7 separate regions of the Homo sapiens genome follow, and all the other regions are linked to region 5. The links are contacts of gene promoters, found by promoter capture Hi-C in blood cells and fetal thymus (Javierre and others, 2016). All regions are on one chromosome and are shown on one strand. Each heading gives the region's core, a stretch centred on a gene start or on the middle of the fragment in contact. The rest is flanking DNA. Distances are from core to core; before and after follow the strand shown. Region 1 overlaps WASHC3 (WASH complex subunit 3). Region 2 has its middle 5.2 kb from the start of TRW-CCA4-1. Region 3 overlaps IKBIP (IKBKB interacting protein). Region 4 overlaps TMPO (thymopoietin). Region 5 holds the start of DEPDC4 (DEP domain containing 4). Region 6 overlaps LINC02453 (long intergenic non-protein coding RNA 2453). Region 7 overlaps PARPBP (PARP1 binding protein).

The links. The method cuts DNA at HindIII sites, captures the fragments that hold promoters and counts their contacts. A CHiCAGO score of 5 or more calls a contact.
Region 1: a contact is called between a fragment that was not itself captured here and the fragment with the promoter of DEPDC4 in region 5, in 2 of 17 cell types (non-activated CD4 T cells and total CD4 T cells). The highest score is 5.8, in non-activated CD4 T cells.
Region 2: a contact is called between a fragment that was not itself captured here and the fragment with the promoter of DEPDC4 in region 5, in 3 of 17 cell types (naive CD8 T cells, activated CD4 T cells and fetal thymus). The highest score is 8.0, in naive CD8 T cells.
Region 3: a fragment that was not itself captured here is called in contact with the fragment with the promoter of DEPDC4 in region 5 in 3 of 17 cell types (fetal thymus, total CD4 T cells and activated CD4 T cells); the score reaches 5.4 in fetal thymus.
Region 4: a fragment that was not itself captured here is called in contact with the fragment with the promoter of DEPDC4 in region 5 in 1 of 17 cell types (activated CD4 T cells); the score reaches 7.1 in activated CD4 T cells.
Region 6: a fragment that was not itself captured here is called in contact with the fragment with the promoter of DEPDC4 in region 5 in 1 of 17 cell types (fetal thymus); the score reaches 5.7 in fetal thymus.
Region 7: a contact is called between a fragment that was not itself captured here and the fragment with the promoter of DEPDC4 in region 5, in 6 of 17 cell types (naive CD4 T cells, fetal thymus, total CD4 T cells and 3 more). The highest score is 8.9, in naive CD4 T cells.

The regions. Positions count from the first base shown.
Region 1 is chr12:102,048,507-102,051,600 of GRCh38, forward strand. The region is part of intron 2 of WASHC3 (WASH complex subunit 3); the gene reads right to left. Among named protein-coding and RNA genes, the nearest start is that of WASHC3, 12 kb to the right of the region's middle. The HindIII fragment of the contact is 1,017 bases long and covers 1,005-2,021 here.
Region 2 is chr12:98,508,076-98,510,813 of GRCh38, forward strand. No RefSeq gene overlaps it. Among named protein-coding and RNA genes, the nearest start is that of TRW-CCA4-1, 5.2 kb to the left of the region's middle. RefSeq lists an enhancer at 294-837. The HindIII fragment of the contact is 8,186 bases long and covers 1-2,738 here.
Region 3 is chr12:98,638,161-98,641,359 of GRCh38, forward strand. All of the region lies in intron 1 of IKBIP (IKBKB interacting protein), which reads right to left. Among named protein-coding and RNA genes, the nearest start is that of IKBIP, 5.0 kb to the right of the region's middle. The HindIII fragment of the contact is 4,214 bases long and covers 1-3,199 here.
Region 4 is chr12:98,534,113-98,537,014 of GRCh38, forward strand. All of the region lies in intron 3 of TMPO (thymopoietin), which reads left to right. Among named protein-coding and RNA genes, the nearest start is that of TMPO-AS1, 19 kb to the left of the region's middle. The HindIII fragment of the contact is 2,487 bases long and covers 343-2,829 here.
Region 5 is chr12:100,265,236-100,268,328 of GRCh38, forward strand. It overlaps DEPDC4 (DEP domain containing 4), which reads right to left and starts at 1,844. Exons shown (of 10, transcript NM_001364818.2): 1 at 1,685-1,844. The coding sequence starts at 1,841. It overlaps SCYL2 (SCY1 like pseudokinase 2), which reads left to right and starts at 1,942. Exons shown (of 18, transcript NM_017988.6): 1 at 1,942-2,557. RefSeq lists enhancers at 1,687-1,766, 2,437-2,506, 2,517-2,576 and silencers at 2,137-2,186, 2,287-2,366. The HindIII fragment of the contact is 4,398 bases long and covers 1-2,791 here.
Region 6 is chr12:98,490,154-98,493,063 of GRCh38, forward strand. All of the region lies in intron 3 of LINC02453 (long intergenic non-protein coding RNA 2453), which reads right to left. Among named protein-coding and RNA genes, the nearest start is that of TRD-GTC1-1, 12 kb to the right of the region's middle. RefSeq lists a silencer at 378-672. The HindIII fragment of the contact is 2,331 bases long and covers 390-2,720 here.
Region 7 is chr12:102,122,097-102,124,906 of GRCh38, forward strand. It overlaps PARPBP (PARP1 binding protein), which reads left to right. Exons shown (of 11, transcript NM_017915.5): 2 at 1,790-1,945. The coding sequence starts at 1,793. Among named protein-coding and RNA genes, the nearest start is that of PARPBP, 3.3 kb to the left of the region's middle. The HindIII fragment of the contact is 1,013 bases long and covers 1,006-2,018 here.

The DNA of each region.
Region 1 (3,094 bases), core at 263-2,762, 1.8 Mb after region 5:
GTGAGCTGAGATCACGCCACTGCATTCCAGCTTGGGCGACGAGTGAGACTCCGTCTCAAAAGAAAAAAAAAAGAAAAAGAAAAAAAATCACAGTGGTTTTAGGATCTAAGACTGTCACCAATAGAAATCATAGTTTTTTTTTTAAATCACATCACAATTGCTGCAGATTTCCTTATACTTCAAAATTAAGGTTATTAGACATATGAAAGGATTATATAATTTAATGCTTTAATAAAGAACCTACTAGTATGTCATAGTTTTAAATTTTTTTAAGTATATAACTGGTTTCTTTTGTAATCCTATGCATTTTATTCTATCCACCTGAAAACATTAATTTGGTTTCACTAGACTGTCAAAGGGTCCATGGCATGATTAAGAAAGAACTACTTTTCAAAGATAATTCAGTATAATAAATGGTTTTGTATGTTCCAGTGTAATTATTGGTATAACATACCTGAATGTATACTTTTTAAAGAGCCATTGTCAGGTGAAAAGGTATACCTGGGTTCATTTATGGGCTGCTGAAGTTCATTTCTAAGATGTGTATGCTTGTGGCATTTTCCTTATACAATCCCCAGACCACTATAAAACAAGTTTTTCAATGCTAGCTATATTGACATTTGTGGGTGAAATATTCTTTGCTGCAGGGGACTGTCCTGAGCACTACAAGATGGGTAGCAGAATCTCTGGTCTCTATCCACTAAATGCTAGTAGCACTCCCCAGTTATTACAATCAAAGACACCTCTAGACATAGCCATATGTCCCCTGGTTGAGAGCCACTGCTCTAAATTATGGATGACTGTGGATATAACATAAGTAACATAATCGGTGACAGTAGCTGTTCTCACCTCTGAAAGTTTTAGCAAGAGGAAATGGAAAGGTAACAGTCTTTCCCATCCATTTAACCATCGTCTTCATGAAGACTGAAAACAAACTTGAAATGCTATGGTTTGGGATAACAGGGGAATTTACAAAGTCCCTGATATTTGTCAGATAAGCTGAAAGCTTGATTTACTACCCATGTATTTCCAAGGCAGTACATTTTATAAAGTTAAAAAAAAAAGGACAAAAGAAAGAAGGAAATATGGAGTTACTAGTTGAATATGGAAACAAAATAAAATGCTGGTTTTTCATGGTTGTAAAATATCTTGTTTATATATCCATTTCTCTAAAAGAGAAACAGTATTTTAAGATAATGGATCTCTTGGTATACCCCACTGTGTTGCGTGTGCCCCAGAAGCCAGAAAAGGAAGCAATGAATGGTTTTATTAGGTTGTGTCTGATACTTAAGCCCAGCAGTGGTTAAAGATATAAGAGCAAATAAGGATTTAAGCAAAATATTATCTGATTAAAGGTTAAGTCCAATGGCAGGCTAAAAAAATGAATGTAGAAGATAAGCACTAAAGAAACTTTCAGGTTATGTGACAATTCTCAGCACTTTTGCTTGTACCTAAAGATTTTAGAAAAAAGAAAAATTTCAGAATTTAAAAAAATTATTTAAAAATCCAGTATCTTAGGCATGTAATAAGTCTGAGTTTGGCTGAGGGTGCTTGTAATCCTAGTACTTTGGGAGGCCGAAGCAGGCAGATGAGCTCAGGAGTTCAAGACCAGCTTGGGCAACATAGGGAAACCCTGTCTCTACAAAAAATACAAAAAATTAGCCAGGTGTGGTGGCACGCACCTGTAGTTCCAGCTACTTGGGGCGCTGAGGCAGGAGGTCTAGGCTGCAGTGAGCTAAGTTCACTCCACTACACTCCAGCATGGGTGACAAAGTGAGACCCTGTCTGACAAAAAAACAACAAAAAAAGTTTGAATTAAAATAACATTCTGGCCAGGTACAGTGGCTCACGCCTATAATTCCAGCACTTGGGAGGCCGAGGCCGAGGGATCACTTAAGCCCAAGAGTTGGAGACCAGCCTAGATAATGTAGTAAGATGCCATCTCTAACACACACACACACACACACACACACACACACACACACAATTAGCCGGGTGTGGTGACACATGCCTATAGTCCAAGCTTCTAGGGAGGCTGAGGTGGGAGGATCACTTGAGCCCAGGAAGTTGAGGTTGCCCTGAGCTGTGATCACGCCACTGCACTCCAGCCTCGGTGATACAGCAAGACCCCGTCTCGGGGGGAAAAGAAAAGAAAAAAAAATTATTAAACAAACAAACAAAAAACCAAAGTAACACATTTGGCACTCCTGTTTATAAAGTACCTTTGACTTTAAAATTCACTATAAGGTTAAATGCTCAGGTTTCACCTGCAATATGCATAGAGCTTATGTTGCTTCCTGCCAACCCCTCAAAATTTGCAGTCCCAATGGATGACCATAAGATTTTGCTGACTAAAGCAAGAATAAAAATGCTCACTGGGGATTTGTGATGGAAGAGGAGATGACCCTAAGTACCTCTGTAATGTGGGTCTGATTCTACTACTTTCTCTGTCATCTAATCTCTCTTCTACTCTGGTGCCAATCACTGGAAGAGTTACAAAAGTAGCCTAATATGCAGAAAGTTTTTGCAAAGTTGAGTTCTTCACAGAATGCAGTTTTATACTCTTCTCTTTAATGAAGAACTCTAGAAACAGTGCCACTGATGAAGAAAGAACCCTAGCAATTTGTTTCAAACTTAATTCTGGCTTGAGGGTTTATCTGTGACTGAAGTTGTTTAAGGTTGGGTTTGGTTCAAACCAGATCCTGTCGGGGGGTGGGAAAAGTTTTCTTTTTCCTCCCAGTTCACTCTCAGTTCAAAAACTAACAGTTGAGGTTCCTCTTTTGTTGAGAGAAACAGTCAGTTGGTTCTTGTTTGAGGCTTTAAATAAATAAGGACTAGAGGCCTATTAGGCACTATTAACAAAAACATTTCAAAACACCAAAGTGACTTTACCTTGGGAGAAAATGGCACCTTACATTTGAATACATGTATCTTTGGAATTGACATAAAAATATATTACATCAAACAGACATAGCATAGCAAAGAAGTGAATGAGTCTAAAAATAGATTTTAATATAGCTATAAGAAGGTACTTGTACTGCACTCTCTCACTTGAAGTTGACATAAGCATGCTTCTTAATCAGATAAAGCAGTG
Region 2 (2,738 bases), core at 94-2,593, 1.8 Mb before region 5:
TATAGGGTAACCTCCTGACATTGCCATGGCATTTGTAAACTGTCATGGTGCTGGTGGGAGTGTAGCAGTGAGGACAACCAGAGGTCACTCTCATCGCCATCTTGGTTTTGGTGGGTTTTGGCAGGCTACTGCAACCTGTTTCACCAGCAAGGTCTTTATGACCTGTGTCTTTTTTTTTTTTTTTTTTTTTTTTTTTGAGACAGAGTCTCACTCTCGCCCAGGCTGGAGTGCAGTGGTGCAATCTCAGCTCACTGCAACCTCCACCTCCCAGGTTCAAGCAATTCTTCTGCCTCAGCCTCCTGAGTAGCTGGGACTACAGGCACGCGCCACCACGCCCAGCTAATTTTTGTATTTTTAGTAGAGACAGGGTTTCACCATGTTGGTCAGGCTGGTCTCGAACTCCTGACCTCGTGATCCACCTGCCTTGGCCTCCCAAAGTGCTGGGATTACAGGCGTGAGCCACCGTGCCCGGCCTATGACCTGTATCTTCTGCCGACCTCCTATCTCGTCTTGTGACTTAAAATGCCTTAACTGTCTGGGAATGCAGCCCAGTAGGTCTTTTCTTTTTTTTTTTTTTTTTTTTTTGAGACGGAGTTTTGCTCGTTGTCCAGGCTGGACTGCAATGGCGCGATCTTGGCTCACTACAACCTCCGCCTCCCGGGTTCAAGCGATTCTTCTGCCTCAGCCTCCTGAGTAGCTGGGATTACAGGCATGTGCCACCACGCCCAGCTAATTTTGTATTTTTAGTAGAGACAGGGTTTCTCCATGTTGATCAGGCTGGTCTCAAACTCCCGACCTCAGGTGATCCACCCACCTTGGCCTCCCAAAGTGCTGGGATTACAGGCATGGGCCACCGTGCACGGCCTTACCCACCCTTTTTTCAACATGGAGGTGCTGTGATTCAAACCCCTCTAACATCAGGACCCCAAAAATGACTAAGCCAAAGGGAAAGTCAAGCTGGGAACTGCTTAGGGCAAACCTGCCTCCCATTCTACTCCTAAAAAAAAAGATAGCTACTAAGATAAAAAAGCTATATATACCTCCCTCACAATTTGACCACAAAGAAATTCCTTGTGGACAAAGGACAGATAGAGATTTAAAAAGTCATCCCTCTGCTCATATGAGATAAATGCATATCTGATTGCCCTTTTGTTTCCCTAAGCCAGACTAACATAAGTGACTATTCCTGTAAATAGTGTATTCAGTGAAAGGCTAATCAGCAACTCAAAAGAATGCAACCATTGGTCTTTTATCTACCTATGACCTGGAACACCCCGGAGCCCCCCAACCCCCACTTGTATTAATAGCTGTCCCGCCTTTCTGGATGGGACCATTGTACATCTTAAACATATTGATTGATGTCTCATGTCTCCCTAAAATGTATAAAACCAAGCTGTGCCACACAACCTTGGGCACATGTCGTCAGGACCTCCTGAGGCTGTGTCATGGGTGTGTCCTTAACCTTGGCAAAATAAACTTTCTAAATTGATTGAGACCTGTCTCCGATTCTCTTGGTTTACAGAGCGATGTATTCTGGACGAACTAATAAAATTGAGCTTTTGGACACGCAGAATTGAAATGCAGACCTGAATTCTGATAAGCCAAATGGTTCTCCAACTTAGCACTCTCACTTAAAAAGAAAAATATGGTTTTAAAATCATATGTGTTCATTGTGGAAATCTAGGGAAATACAGACATATAAATAAAAAGAAAATAAGAATCACCTGTGCCTCACTATCCAAGAGAAAGTACTCCACTTTGATGTATATTATTTTTTTTCTTTTCTTTTCTTTTTTTTTTTTTTTTTTTTGCCTCCCCAATAGCTGGGAGTACAGGAGCACACCAGCATGCCAGCTAATTTTTTTTTTTTCTTTTTTTTTGAGACTGAGTTCCGCTCTTGCCCAGGCTGGAGTGCAATGGCGAGATCTTGGCTCACTGCAACCTCCGCCTCCCAGGTTCAGGTGATTCTTCTGCCTCAGCCTCCCAAGTAGCTGGGGATTACAGGTGCCCACCACCACACCTGGATAATTACTGTATTTTTAGTAGAGACAGGGTTTCGCCACGTTGGCCAGGCTGGTCTTGAACCCCTGACCTTGGGTGATCCGCCCGCCTCGGCCTCCCAAAGTGCTGGGATTACAGACGTGAGCCACCGTGCCCGGCCCCACCTAATTTTTGGTTATTTTTAGTAGAGACTGGGGTCTCCCTATGTTGCCCAGGCTGGTCTCAAACTCCTGAGCTCAAGGGATCCTCCCACCTCAGCCTTCCAAAGTACTGGGATTATAGGTGACAGCCACCAAGCCAGCCTCATATTCTTAAATGTCAAAACATGATTTTTTACTACTGTGCATTATTTTGTCATATGGATATATCATAAACAACCAATTCCTTACTATTGGAGATAGAGATTTTTTATTTTTTTCACCATTATAAATGAAGCAATAAATACCTTTATAAATGAATTCCACATTTGATTTTATCTTTAGAATAAATTATCAGAAATGGCTTAAGGGAGCTAAACTTTTTTTTTTTTTGAGAGACCGAGTCTCGTTCTGTTGCCCAGGCTGGAGTGCAATGGTGCCATCTCAGCTCACTGCAACCTCCGCCTCCCGGGTTCAAGGGATTCTCCCACCTCAGCCTCCCAAGTAGCTGGGATTACAGGCGCATGCCACCAGGCACGGCTAACTTTTGTATTTTCAGTAGAGAGGGGCTTCCACCATGTTGGTCAGGCTGGTCTCGAA
Region 3 (3,199 bases), core at 607-3,106, 1.6 Mb before region 5:
CGAATCATACTGATTAGGTGGGTGACTGGACTGCCTTAGCTCTGCCATTTACTAAGCTGTATAACCACTTTGGGCAAGTTAAATAACTTTGATGTTTCCTCATCTGTGAAGTGGGGATAATACCTTATTTTAATCTTATTTTTTAAAGACAAGATCTCACTCTATTTCCCAGGCTGGAGTGCAGTGGTGTGATCATGGCTCACTGTAGCCTCCCAGGCCCAATCCATCCTACCCCCTCAGCCTCCTGAGTAGCTGGGAACACAGGCGTGTGCCATAATGCCTGGCTAATTTTTTATAGAGATGGGGGTCTTCCTATGTTGCCCAGTCTTGTCTTGAACTCCTGGGCTCAAGTGATCCTCCTGCCTTGGCCTCCCAAACTGTTGGGATTATAGGTGTGAGCCAGAGCACCCAGCCAATACTTCATAGGGTTGTAGTTTGTTTTTCGACAAGGTCTCATTCTGTTACCCAGGCTGGAGTACAGTAGCCTGATCATAGCTTACTGCAGCCTTGAACTCCTGGGCTCAAGTGATTCTCCCACCTCAGCCTCTCAAGTAGCTAGGACCACAGGTACATTACCACCACTGGCTAATTAAAAAAAAAAATTCTGTAGAGAGGAGATCTGGCTATTTTGTTTGTTTGTTCGTTTTTTGAGGCAGCTGAAGAGGAAGAGGTCTACAGTGACACAATCATAGTTCACTGCAGGTCAAACTCCCTGGGCTCAAGCGATCCTCTCGCCTTGGCCTCCTAAAATGCTGGGATTATAAGTGTGAGCCACCATGCCTGGCCGAGTTATTGTAGACATTAGTTATTGCTATTTATAAAAGCTCCTGGAACAATAGAGCCATAGCACATCAGCTATTTCCTTTAAGTACTGTGGCCCCTTTTTTTTCTCTTTTTGGAGATGGAGTCTCACTCTGTTGTCCAGGCTGAAGTGCAGTGGTGTGATCTCGGCTCACTGCAACTTCCGCCTCCTGGGTTCAAGTGATTCTTCTGCCTCAGCCTCCCAGCTAGCTGGGATTACAGGTGCCCATCAACAAGACCAGCTATCTTTCTTTTGGACTACTTTGTGCAGCTACTCTTCCATCCTTCCTACATGCCTATGATTGCATAAGGGAAGCAGGGTTCCCGACCACTTGCACTTGATAGAAGCCCCAGGCCTGTCCCCCTTTGAACACTAAGTATAAACTGGGTTGTGTTTATGGCAAATGAAGGATGGAATAGATGGATTAGACCACTTATAAATCACTAAATAAAAATAACTCTCGTTTTTGGGCCTCTTCTCACTATCATATCATATGGCCTTGTGGAAGAGTGAGATACAGGAGAAAGGGACCCAGGCTACTTTTAGCGTAGGCCTTACAAAAAGAATCTTCCTGACTCCTTCATGAGCCATTGCAGTCTATAGAGACCTCATACAGATCTATCTAGGGTCCTGTGATAATGAATGGTTTACATTTTCCTACAGTGCATGGTGGTAATTAATGGTGTGTGTTGCCTCTGAATAGCTCCTTTAGGAACGTTAAATGGTGGCAGACAGCTGACTGAGGACTTACAAATTCAGGATTTCCTCTGGCTCTATTTCAGCTTAATAATGAAAAAGAGGCAAATAACCAAAGGAAGCTGTTACGGACCTTCTGCAAGGAAAGAAGTTCCAGGGCCACTATTAGGGTCAGTACCCATTTAGCCCTATGTTTCATACCATCTATAGCCTCAGTTTTAGCACAATACCTAGTTTTCAAGAAAACCTTGACCATATTCCATTTTTAAGAAGCAGGACATTTAAATTATACCCTTGTCTTTTAGATAAAACTCTACTAACACAAAGAAAAAAGCTGGAAATGGAGTTAGCCAAGGTTTTACAGTATGATTTATAGAGAAAATTATATTGGATAATTAAAACAAAAACCAGAGTTATACAACTTGCTTAAAGAGCTTTTGACTTTTTGTACATAATTATAACAGATACTATAAAAAACTTTTATAAAGGCAATTTAGGCCAGGCACGGTGGCTCACGCCTGTAATCCTAGCACTTTGGGAGGCTGAGGTGGACAGATCACCTGAGGTTGGGAGTTTGACACCAGCTTGACCAATGGAGAAACCCTGTCTCTACTAAAAATACAAAATTAGCTGGGCGTGGTGGCGCACACCTGTAATCCCAGCTACTCGGGAGGCTGAGGCAGGAGAATTGCTTGAACCTGGGAGGTGGAGGTGGAGGTTGCGGTGAGCTGAGATTGCGCCACTGCACTCCAGCCTGGGCAACAAGAGCAAAACTCCATCTCTCAAAACAAAACAAAACAAAACAAAACAAAACAAAACAAAAAAGCAATTAAAAAATCTATTGAAGTTTCCATAAGAAACAAAATTTTCACAATGGAAATTCCAGCTGATTAAATTTCTATGTAATTAAATAAGCATGAGTGACAGGTTTTGTGTCTTGTTTAGTAATTTAACAACTTTTTAACTTTCTGAAAGTAGAATCACCTCAATTCTTACCTGAAAAATTTCTATAAGAGTTTAGAAAAGAGCTATGCAAACTGACACTCAAGCCATATGGGTTTGGGCAACTTATCTCCAGTGTTTATTGTCAAGATGACATAGGATATATCAGGCCTTTTTTTTTTTGCAGGGTCTCACTTTGTCACCCAGGCTGAGTGCTGTGGTGCAATCAAAGCTCACTGAAACCTCAAATTCCGGGGCTCAAGCAATCCTCCAACCTCAACCCCCCAAGTAGCTGGGACTACAGGCATGCGCCACCATGCCTGGCTAATTTTTTGTATTTTTTGTAGAGACAGGGTTTTACCATGTTGCCCAGGCTGGTCTTGAACTCCTGAGCTCAAGATCCGCCCAACTCGGCCTCCCAAAGTGCTGGGATTACAGGTGGGAGCCACCACACCTGGCCTATCAGGCCTTTATTTAGCAGAGAGAAGATATTAAAGCAACACACTTTTAAGTTTCTTATGTATTATTTCTCTTTTCTTTCCACATAGGAAATGGTCTGAAGACAATGATATAGTGTGATTCCTTGAAATCCTTCTTGGGCAGTGGAAGGGTTCAGATTTTTTCCCTCCAACTTAATCAGATGAAGAGTGAGAGTAAGCAGTATTTAAGAGTACACAGACAGGCACACATATGCACTTGTATTTTAACCACCAGGGCCGTGTCAGTACGGAAAGCATTTAATAAAGATTTGATAGACCG
Region 4 (2,902 bases), core at 336-2,835, 1.7 Mb before region 5:
GCAAAACATATGATGCAGCCTCATATATTTGTGAAGCTGCATTTGATGAAGTGAAGATGGCTGCCCATACCATGGGAAATGCCACTGTAGGTCGTCGATACCTCTGGCTGAAGGATTGCAAAATTAATTTAGCTTCTAAGAATAAGCTGGCTTCCACTCCCTTTAAAGGTGGAACATTATTTGGAGGAGAAGTATGCAAAGTAATTAAAAAGCGTGGAAATAAACACTAGTAAAATTAAGGACAAAAAGACATCTATCTTATCTTTCAGGTACTTTATGCCAACATTTTCTTTTCTGTTAAGGTTGTTTTAGTTTCCAGATAGGGCTAATTACAAAATGTTAAGCTTCTACCCATCAAATTACAGTATAAAAGTAATTGCCTGTGTAGAACTACTTGTCTTTTCTAAAGATTTGCGTAGATAGGAAGCCTGGTACAAACAATTTAACGCTTTCTAGATCACATATTAGTCTCTAAGTTGTTTTCTGTTTCCTGCTTTACTTATGTTTTTACAATTCTCCAAAACTAAGAAAATTCTAATTAGGATATAAGGAGTATTTACTGTTCAATAGAATAATATGCATCCTCCTTTATACCTAGGACAGAATTAAACATTTGTTACACATTCAGAACAGTGATGTTGTTCTTTTTGATACTTTTATCTCAGTATCTTTTCACGTTCCATAACTTGTCCATATTTTTGCTCATATTTTCTTACTTTTCTTTGTTATTTATTCATGTCTGCAACATCAATCATAGTAGTCTAGATCAATGCAACTCAAAGCACCAGTCTACAAACTGTTACTTATCCACAGGCAAGATAAGCATGCACAAGAATTTAAATCTAGAGATACTTTTTAGGTCAATGACAGGATTTGATTTTTTAGCAAAATTTTATTAATAGCTAAAGCAATGTATTGATTTACACTCTGATGCAAGTAATTTATCTCTTCATTGACTGGTAGCAACCAATTCATGGACCAGTACCATGGACCACACTTTGAGAAACACTTCTTTGGATAATAATAGATATCCTGGGATAGTGCATGTTCACCATCTATTTTGTCAGATAATGGGGCCTTTTAAAAAATAATACTTTGCTTTCATGATATATTGTATTTTGTGGAAAGTTAAGTTTAGCAATATAGACTCTAAAAGCAAATTAAATTTTTTTAAGCCATAAGAAATTATACTATATCCCAGTATCTGTATGTCTGTATAAAGCAGTGTATTATCATGTTTTCATTTCTGTGATTGTAAGTTAAGAGTCTTAACTGCAGAGGTATTGTGGAAAGTAGTAGCCTTAAGCATAATAAAATATGGTCTCTTGGGTACTCCCTCTGGCCATTACCACATTCTTAGATTATATGTGTCCATCTTTGCAGCTTTCTGAGAGTAATTTTATTTGTTGTCTTCTGAAATGTACATGTATACATGTACCTACTGAGTGCTATGTGATTTTTAAAAATGTATTACTGTAGAATGCTTCTGCAAATTCAATAAAGTTGTTAAATTTGAACAGTGTTGTGTGGTCTCCAGAAACATGTTGTTCTGTGTGCTTTATTCTTGGAGTTGCAACAAGTTAAATATTTGTATATGAACACCCCTTTTCCATTTCATCATTGAAACTCACTTTGACATTTCAGTGGTATAATTGAAAATATTCTGATTATGGTATGGTTTTTCTTCTGTTTGAGGACCATGTTTTTATTGACTGTTGGAATCTAAATTTATAAGAGGAATTAATCTGTAACCAGATACCTTATTCGTTTAACCGATTTCTATTCCACTACTAATGGTTTTTTTTACTTTGTGCTTTCTAGTTCTTAGATTCTGAGTTAACAAAGCATAAAATAGATTTTATATTGCTGGGGGTTGTACCAAACATAGATACATTGACAGATCCATTGATAGAAGTGTTGGGAGATGGACTTGAAATCTTAGTCCTAAATAAAGACTGAACTGTTTAAACTAACTTGATAAAAATCACTGTTCGTTTTTGGGAACCTGCAAGTATTAAATAGATTCTGTACTAACTAGTATTAACACTGGAAAGTTAGCAAGACACATATAGATGTCTTGACCACTTTTTCACACAAGTTCAGAGTTCATGTAAAACTTTAGAATTGACTTCCTTTCTGTCTCTTCAGTAAGAAAGTAATCTAACTTAAATTTTTGGTAGTAGAAGTTTTAGAAATAACAACTGACTAATTTTGCTATACCATGATAAATGTCTACAAAAAGGGATTTTTTTTTTTTTGAAATGAAGTTTCGCTCTTGTCCCCAAAGCTGGAGTGCAATGGTGTGATCTCAGCTCGCTGCAACCTCCGCCTCCCAGGTTCAAGCAATTCTCCTGCCTTAGCCTCCTGAGTAGCTGGGATTACAGGTGTCTGCCACCAACCCTGGCTAATGTTTGTATTTTTAGTAGAGACGGGGTTTCACCATGTTGGCCAGGATGGTCTTAAGCTGACCTCAGGTGATCCGCCCACCTCGGCCTTCCAAAGTGCTGGGATTACAAGCGTGAGCCACCATGCCCTGCCAGGGATGTTAACTAAAATCAGTCTTTTCAAAACCTAGATCTTCAAATGATGATGAATTTAAGACTAGGAGACTGGAATATTGAAGCCTATTAAAAAATACATATCCTTGCGTTGTTAGGTTAATAACTATCATGGTGACAAGTGTATAAGTATTGGCTTCTTTTCAAAGAAATGTTATTTTTATTATAAGGACTGGGACGAGAAGTGACCTGTGATTGGTCGTATTTTTCTGTGAACAAGATTCCTTCTTTACCTGAGTTGTACCTAGGTTTTTTATAACTACATCAAAAAAGCTTTTATATTGTACTTATTAATGTTATGGCAGTTACTTATAGAAGCTTGGTACTATATGGATTTTTTTCAT
Region 5 (3,093 bases), core at 594-3,093:
GTGAGCTGTGACCCTGCCACTGCACTCCAGTCAGGGCAACAGAGTGAGACCCTGTCTCAATTAGAAACAAAAACAGTTGGCCAGGCGCAGTGGCTTAAGCCTGTAATCCCAGCACTTTGGGAGGCTGAGGCAGGTGGAGGTCAGGAGTTCAAGACCACACTGGCCAACATAGTGAAACCCCATCTCTACCAAAAATACAACACAAAAAAATTTAGCTGGGCATGGTGTCGCACGCCTGTAATCCCAGCTACTTGGGAAGCTGAGGCAGGAGAATTGCTAGAACCAGGAGGTGGAGGTTGCGGTGAGCCGAGATCACGCCATTGCACTCCAGCCTGGGCAAGGGAAAAAAAACAGTCTATTACCTGAAAAAAACAGTTAAATAAATTATGGTATACCCTTACTATAGAATAGTAGCCAGCCATTAGAAAGAATGAAGTAGAGCTATGTTTATAGTGTGCAAGGATCTCATTAAGTAGGGAAAAAGAAAAACCCAAAACAAAAATTTTTTAAAAATGAGCTGAGCAGAACAACTTGTATATTATTATCCTACTTAGGTAAAAATGAATTCCCAACCTATGTAAAAATGTATGTAAATAAATAGAAAGATCTGGAAGAATAAACTTCAAACGAGTAACCTTGGGGAAGAAGGATTGTAATGGTGGCTGATGAAAGAGGATGTACCCTTTTAAAGTGTACAATTCAGTGTTTCTAGTACATTCACAAAGTTGTGCAGCCATCACTATTATCTAATTTCAGACCATTGCATCATTCCACAAAGAAACCTATAGTTCGCAGTCATTCTTCATTCTTCCGTACCCCAGTAAAATTTTAATTAAAATTAAATTTAATTAAAATTAATTAAAAAAATTAAAGAATGATAAGGGAATAACTTAGAACTTCTAGAATGTTTTTTCTAGATTTGCAGGGGGAAGTGGGTAGAATCCAAGAACTTAAGCTCTCTTCTCCAACTATGCATAACCGCAAAAGTATGCCCAACTATACATATGTTTACGATAAAATGACAGAAATAAAAATCCACCACCCTCAAATTCCTTCTGTAACAGAAGTTACCCGTCTAATCACTCAAGAAATCTTATCCCCAGACATTGTGGGCAGAGCGGAGACTGAGGAGGGGAGGCCAGAAAGTGATGGGCGGAGGTGGGCAGGAGGGTACTCGACGGGGTAGGTGGAAAATACAGCGGTACAGCCTGTTTTCCATAGACAGTCTACCTCTCTAACCTTCATTAAACAAGTAGGCTAGATTAAAGAAATAACTCCTCTAGCTCAAGGAATTTGCCCTCTAGTACATTAACCCCTTGTTGCTGTAAGTGTAGCCTAGGGACCAGCAGCATTGGTGCCATCTGGACATGTATTAGAAACGCAGATTATCAGACCCTACTCCTCAATCAGAATTTGCACTTTCACAAGATCCTAGGGATTCGTATGTATATTAAAGTTTGAGAAAAAACGCTTTCCTGCACGCTCCAAGGGCACTTCACCACAGTAACCCCTAAAAAGCCTCAGTCCTGGGTCCCCCAGTCCAGTGCCTGGTAGGGCAGGAAGGGGGCGGGGCTAGGAAATGGGCGGGGCCCTGGACCAATGAGGAGCAGAGTCCCAGCCGCCTGCTCCCTTCAGCTGCCCCCTCCACCTTCACTGCACATTTGGCTAGGATATACAGGGCTACCTGTCCTCCTTTTCCGGCAGAAGCCATCTCTACGGTTCCTGGAACTTGGCCCGTTCAGCCCTGGGCCCGGAAGCTCGTTCTGACTGACAAGTCTACGGAACCTCGGAGTCAAAAGAACCGCCATAAGCTCGCGCGCTGGCTCCTCCCCTGGCACCATAGCCCCGCCCCACCTGACACCCGGGGCGGAGAGAAGTACTGGCTCCGCCTCTTCCGAACCGGCAGGAAGTGACGTCATGCCCCCGGCCGGCAGGTCTTTTAGTCTTTTTCCCCCTCCCTTACTCTTCGTCCCCGGTCCCTCCCCTCCCCACCCCTTTCCTTCTAGCTCCGACGTTTGCGGCCGCGGGGGCGGCGGAGGATATGGAGTAAAGCCAGAGTCAGTGGCCAGGCACGAAGGCAGAGCAGGAACAGCCAGGAGGCGTTTATTAGGGGGGCGGGGGGAAAGAGCCCCAGCACCGCCCCTCCTGGAAGAAGGAAGAGGTAAGTGACCGGCCGCCGGCACCGACCGACCTCCCTCACCGGCGGCTCTCTCGCCTGGGCTCCCGGAGCCGGCGAGGAGGGAATGGAGGACTCGCGCCCGGGTTAGGCCTCCCAGGGCCGCTCAGGCTGGTGGGTGTTGCCTGGTGACGGGCCTGCCGGCGGCCGGCCGGGCGATCGGCGGTCGGCGCCCGCGCAAAGCGGGGCTGGACGAGCAGCGAGCTCCGGGGAGCGGATCCGAGAGGGCCGAGTCCTCGAAAGAGGCCTTGAGGCGACGGGAGACCCGGGATCGAAGTCAGCTGCCGGAGGGAGAGCCCCCCATGCCGGCTCGAGAGCTCGGGTTTCGGTGGTGGAGAACGTAGTACCTTTCGGGGACATTGGACACTACTCTAGGACCGGGTGAGAGAGTTCACCTCAGTTCTGAGGTCCGGAATCCGGTAGCCTGGGTCACCAGCCAGGGCCCTGCCGCCCGCCGTCCTTCTCTGACAGTAGCTTTAGTTCTGGAATGGAAGGTTATTGTGTGTGAGGTGGGTGGGGCAGGGGTTTTGTTAAGAGAAAAAACCCCACGGTTACTCCTGCAGTCTTGTTTTTCTAAACGGGAGAATACGGATGGAGGAGGGTTTAGACCGATAAAGCTTGCAAAAACTTATTGGACTTTGAGCACATACCTGTGATCCGTAATTAAGGAGGCCATATTATCAAATCCACCCTCTAAGGCACTCGAGGAGGCTCCAGACAAGCTGCTTAAAAGCGCTATGCCTGTAGTGACTTCATTGGAAGGTGTCAACTATTTTTTAGTACGTCAAACTCAGGAATTATTTGTGATGACACTTTCTAAAAACATTGGATACTATGAGTGAGTTTTCTAAGTAGCCTATCTCCGTTCTGAAAAATAAATAGTTTAGCAAAAATGCTCCAAATCAGCCTGCCACTGT
Region 6 (2,910 bases), core at 305-2,804, 1.8 Mb before region 5:
CTGGAAAGGGAAGGGGATTCTCTACTGAAAGTAGATTTTCCCCACAAGAGACACCTTTGCAGGGCCATTTCAAAATGTGTCAAAAATATATATATATTTTTTGGGGTAAACTACTTCAATTTACTTCAGGGCCTGCTGTCTGTCATGTTGGTATCTTACTGCTACAAAAAGCCTTCTTTGTCAGACTTATGTTAATGCTGGTCAGATGTGCCTGAATCCCAAAGGGACTCTGTCCCAAAGGGAGGAGAGTATAATGAGGCTTGTCTGACCACCTGTTCCCATCATGACATGAACTAGCGTTTCAGGTAACTTTGGAATGCCCCTGGACAAGGAGGCATCCATTCAACTGATTGGGGAGCTTAGAATTTTATTTTTGGTCTACATGGTAAAGCTTAAAGTTGCGGAAATCATTATCCTCAGTCAAGCTAAAGCCTAGGTATCCAGACCTCTCTTTCACCTAATTTATTTGCAATTAATCCAAAGTTCTAGGCCAGGCACAGTGACTCACACCTGTAAACCCAGTCCTTTGGGAGGCGGAAGCATGGAGGATCACCCGAGGCCAGGAATTCAAGGCTGCAGTGAGCTAAGATTGCACCACTGCTCTCCCGCCTGGGTGACAGAGCAAGACCCTGTCTCTAAAAGAAATTTTTAAAACAAATAACAAAGTACTGGTTTATGCTGTATTTATAAAACAACATATGTAGTAAGATTTTCTTAGTTTTAGAACCCAGAAAGCTGTGCCAAATGCTTTGAGAGTTGACTTATTTCCTATTAGGTTTTTTAAATACTTGCAGTCCAGATACTGCTTTTAATTTTTTAAAAAACAGTATCCATACTTACAGGCTCTGATTAAGTTTCAAAGACTAAGCCTGCCATGCTTGTCGGTGTGTGATTCCTTCCTCTAAGATTCCAGACATTCCCGTCTCCAGGCATCACTGTGTCGGGGGAGCGCTGTGTGAAAATGGCTGTGATCTTTGTGCGGTTTGTCCGGTTATACCTCACTGGGACACCAGAGGGCGCAAGGAGGGCCAGCACTTGTTTTTCTTTAAATCTCGAATCAAAGTCCATGCAGAGAACAACAAAAGACCCGGAACACAGGGGCCTTGAGACAAAGGGACTCAGGGGAAAAGGCTGCACGCCCTGTTTTACTGAAGTGGAATTTGCTTCTTCACCCTCCTCACCTCCTCACCTCCTCCCCACCTTAAGGAACTAGAAATAAACAACTTAAGCTGCAAAATAATGAAATCTGGCTAACAAGGAAAACCAAACTAGAATACATTACTCAACATGTCATAGGCTAAGAGGACTATCACAAATGTACATTTGAGCTATTTGCTTTGCCTAATATTAATAACTTTAAAGAAAATTTTATTGTTTGCTTTTCTGAGTTCAATATATGCACATAGTAGAAAATTTAGAAAAGGTGGAATAGCAAAAAGAACAGCGATCATCAACACACTCTTAACCCAGATATAACTACTTTTAATATCTTCAGCTACTTCTTTCCAGATGTTTTCTTCTTTCTTTCTTCCTTTTTTTTTTTTTTTTTTTTGAGACGGAGTCTCACTCTGTCCCCATGCTGGAGTATAATGGCGCGATCTAGGCTCACTGCAACCTCCGCCTCCCAGATTCAAGTGATTCTCCTGCCTCAGCCTCCCGAGTAGCTAGGATTATAGGCACCCACCACCACGCCCAGCTAATTTTTGTATTTTTAGTAGAGACGGGGTTTCACTCTGTTGGCCAGCCTGGTCTCGAACTCCTGACCTCAAGTGGTCCTCCCGCCTCAGCCTCCCAAAGTGCTGGGATTACAGGCATGAGCCACCGCACCCAGCCACCAGACGTTTCCAGTACTTACAAATGCATAGAAAAAAAATGGGATTCTGCGTGCTATTTTGTGCTGGTTCTCTTCTTATTTTCTAGATCACTAACTTCATTTTATTGATAAATTCTGATAATAAAACTTTGCTAATCATATGAGTTAATCACAGGTAGGAGAATAAGAAATTTCAAAAGCTACAGGCAGCTTTTTTCCCAAAATAGCAGCAACTTGAATGCCAGACCTGAGTCATGCATTTGAAGCAGAAGTTTTTCTGTTGCTTTGTGTTTAGAAAACACGGAAAGACTAAAGAAAAGGCCTGTCGCAGTGGCTCACACCTGTAATCCCAGCACTTTGGAAGTCCAAGGCGGATCACAAGGTCAGGAATTTGAGACCAGCCTGGTCAACATGGTGAAACCCTATCCCTATTAAAAATACAAAAATTAGCCAGGCATGGTGGCCCGCACCTGTAGTCCCAGCTAATCGGGCAGCTGAGGCATGAAAATTGCTTGAACTTGGGAGGCGCAGGTTGCAGTGAGCCAAGGTCACACCACTGCACTCCAGCCTGGGTGACAGAGTGAGACGGGTCTCAAAAAAAAAAAAAAAATCCAAAGAAAAGAAGTAGAAACTGTTCCATCCCACCCCAAACAGGCTGAATAATTTGTCCTTCTGGGTAGCCTGAGGACTGAATGCCAAAGGGCCAGGGGGTGTGGGTCACCAGGACCCTTTGTTCCTCACACTGGGGCTAGTGTTTGCCTCAAAGCTAGACAGATCAGTAAAGCTATTAACCGGGATAGGTCAGCAGGTGGTCAGTAGGGCAGGAAAAAAGTCAGGAAAACGGAGGTCACTGATCTCCTGTTGGGTTGGGGCCAATGTTGGCAGGCAGGTTCCTTAAAGGACAGGAAGCTTAGGCCAGCCCAGGAACAGATAACTCTAAGGAAAGTGATGGCAAGATCTGAGGCCCTGAAAACCTCTGAGGGACACCTAATCACTAAGCCCACAGATTCCTTAATTTACAGCAACAGATAAAGGTGATGTTCTCGGCCACAGGAATTTAGTTAAATCACTGGAGCTGTCTGGCCTCAGTTTCCTTA
Region 7 (2,810 bases), core at 262-2,761, 1.9 Mb after region 5:
AGTCTTCATTCATAGCAATCAAATCTCATAATACTACCTTTAAATAATACCAGTAAGTAATTTACTCCTAAAAATGTATTTCAGGCAAAGTGACCATGTCACTGAAGCTGACAGTTCTTCACTTTCTTTTTTCTTTCAAGAGATGAGGGTGATTTTTTGAAGAGAAATACAATTCTTAGCTATTTACTAGGATTTGCATTTATGTAAATAATTAATCTCTAATCTTCTACCTGTATCTTTAAGTTGCATCATAGATTGTGTCTATAATTTAATTATATTGCAAGTGGCATGTATCTTTGCTCTTGATTATACAAACCAAAGTAAACATCTAGGATTCTGTTTATGCCACATAAAAATAGAAGAAAAGGATAGCAGAAGGAGTCAGGAAATGGAATAAGTACAGGAAAATACCCAAAATAAGATGATGGGCATGTGAGTATGTTGAGACTTGAGTACTTAAAGTAGGAAAAAAACTTTTAGCAGGCATGTCTGTAAACTCAGAGAAAGGAATTGGATGCCTTATATAGTCTTGGGTATATGAAACATTGGCACTACCTCAAATTATTTTGAAAGGCTTTTGTGTGCATCAGGAGAAGTTACTTAACATGATGCTTTAAGAACACAGCTTATAGAGTTAGACATATTAAGTTTATGCTGTTTGTCCACTTACAAGCTGAGTGACGTGGAGGTTATTAGGTAAAATAAGGATAATAACAGACCTGTCTTATTGGACACTTATGACAGTCGAGTGAGGTAATCAATATTAAGCTTTTGAAAAGTATCTCCACCAAGTTAGCTCCTAAATATTAGTTATTTTATTGGTTATGTAGTACGGTGTAACAAACCATTTCAAAAGTTAAGGTTTTAAAATAACCATTTCCTTCTGATTCTGTGGATCAGCAGTTTGGGTGGGACACTGCTTGGTGATACTCTAGTGGTCATACAGGACACAATTCCTCCTGTTGTAATAGGTGGTGACAACACATGTGAAATGTCTACCAGGGAAGCTTATTAGAGACTTAATGCCCAGGGTTTTTATTGGGGGCTAAATGCAAAGGCATCCACTGTCTGACATGTACCAAAATTCCAGACTCGCAAGTGTTTAGCATAAACTATATTGTTTGTATGAACAGTTTAGCACAGTGAACCACTCTTACTGGAAACACTCCTGAAATCTAAGCTCCCAAACTGGACTCCAGCTTCAAAGGAGAGCATTCAGGCCTATTGTATTAGTACTTCTGCACACACCACTTAAGGCCTAAGCTCAGAACTCCCACAGCGTCATTCTTGCCACATTCTATTGGTTAAATCAAGTCACAAGCCTGGTCCAGATTCAAAAGGGTAGAAAAATAGGCCACCTCTTTTGGGACAACGTAGGATGGGAGGAAATTGGCTTTTTAGGTTTTTTTTTTTTTTTCCCAATTTATCAGACTTATTACCTATCTCAAAACAAATATATATATTTAAATACAGCTTTAATTAGGTATATTTGTAATTATAAGTTTGCAGTAAATTTGCATGTCTGTTTTTGTGTGAATTTTCAGAATTGAAGGCTACATTTTGTTCTTTCAGAAGGTTTGGCTTAAGAAACCAAAGGGGAGGGAAATATGATTGCGCAGAAATTGTATTATTTTGTTTTCCTAAATTTAATTAAAAGCAATCTTGGTAAATATGAAATGACCTCTCATTCACTATATGTTTTTCTCTATCTGTGCTTGCCTATACATGTTAAATGTTAATTTCAGGTTAACATAAGATACTTTAACTTTGTATTCTGTCCTACTTTAAGATAATGGCTGTGTTTAATCAGAAGTCTGTCTCGGATATGATTAAAGAGTTTCGAAAAAATTGGCGTGCTCTTTGTAACTCTGAGAGAACTACTCTATGTGGTGCAGACTCCATGCTCTTGGCATTGCAGCTTTCTATGGCGGAGAACAACAAACAGGTTGGTAAACTATATTTGGGTTAACTTGTTTTTTTAAAGCAAAATTTCATTGCTGCCCATTTGAATAAACTTAAGCTTAAGAATATTAATTTCTTTACATTATGTGCCCTTCTGTGATAATACACCATTTTCACAAATGCCTCTGTGTATCTGTGTCAGAATGTTATGATAGAATTTGAAATGAATTATTTCAAAATTAAGCTCTTATGTATGGTTATACACGGGACATGCATATTTGATGTTTAATAGGAAGATTTAGGATAAACATGTAACTATTATTATTGTGGTCAAATTATTTTTATTTAATAAGACTTTTTTCATTCCCTAAACTTTTAAAAACTACTGGCTCTTGTACCCCAATCCTGGAAATTCTTCCAATCTGCACCGGGATACTGGAAACTGCCTTTAAAAAATTTCCACAAAGTGATTCTTACTTAGGTAGCTTGAGCCAAACTAGCGTTTGGATTTAAGCCGTAGATTAAGGGTTAGAGGTGTTCAGATGAGAGAAGGATGAATGTAGGATAGAGTGGTAAGGAAAGGCTTTGTGATATTAGATAGATTTTAGATAAAGGAAGAGAAGGCTGTAGAGGAGGTATGATGAGGAAAGTCAGTTCAGAAGAAGGGTTCAGGGGAATCAAAGTCATGGTATGAACTTGGCAAAGATACTGGCTTGACTAGAGAAGAGGATTTTTGAAGGGTAGAATTAGCTTCAATGGGTCTGTTGGGCTAGATATTGAAATGACATTCTGATGAGTTATTTTAATTTTATATGTCAGTAGTTTCCAGATTTTTAGATTCCATAGACAGTAAAATTTCTAAAAAATTATTAGACACTGACAGATTTTAACCATTTCTCATTTTTGCA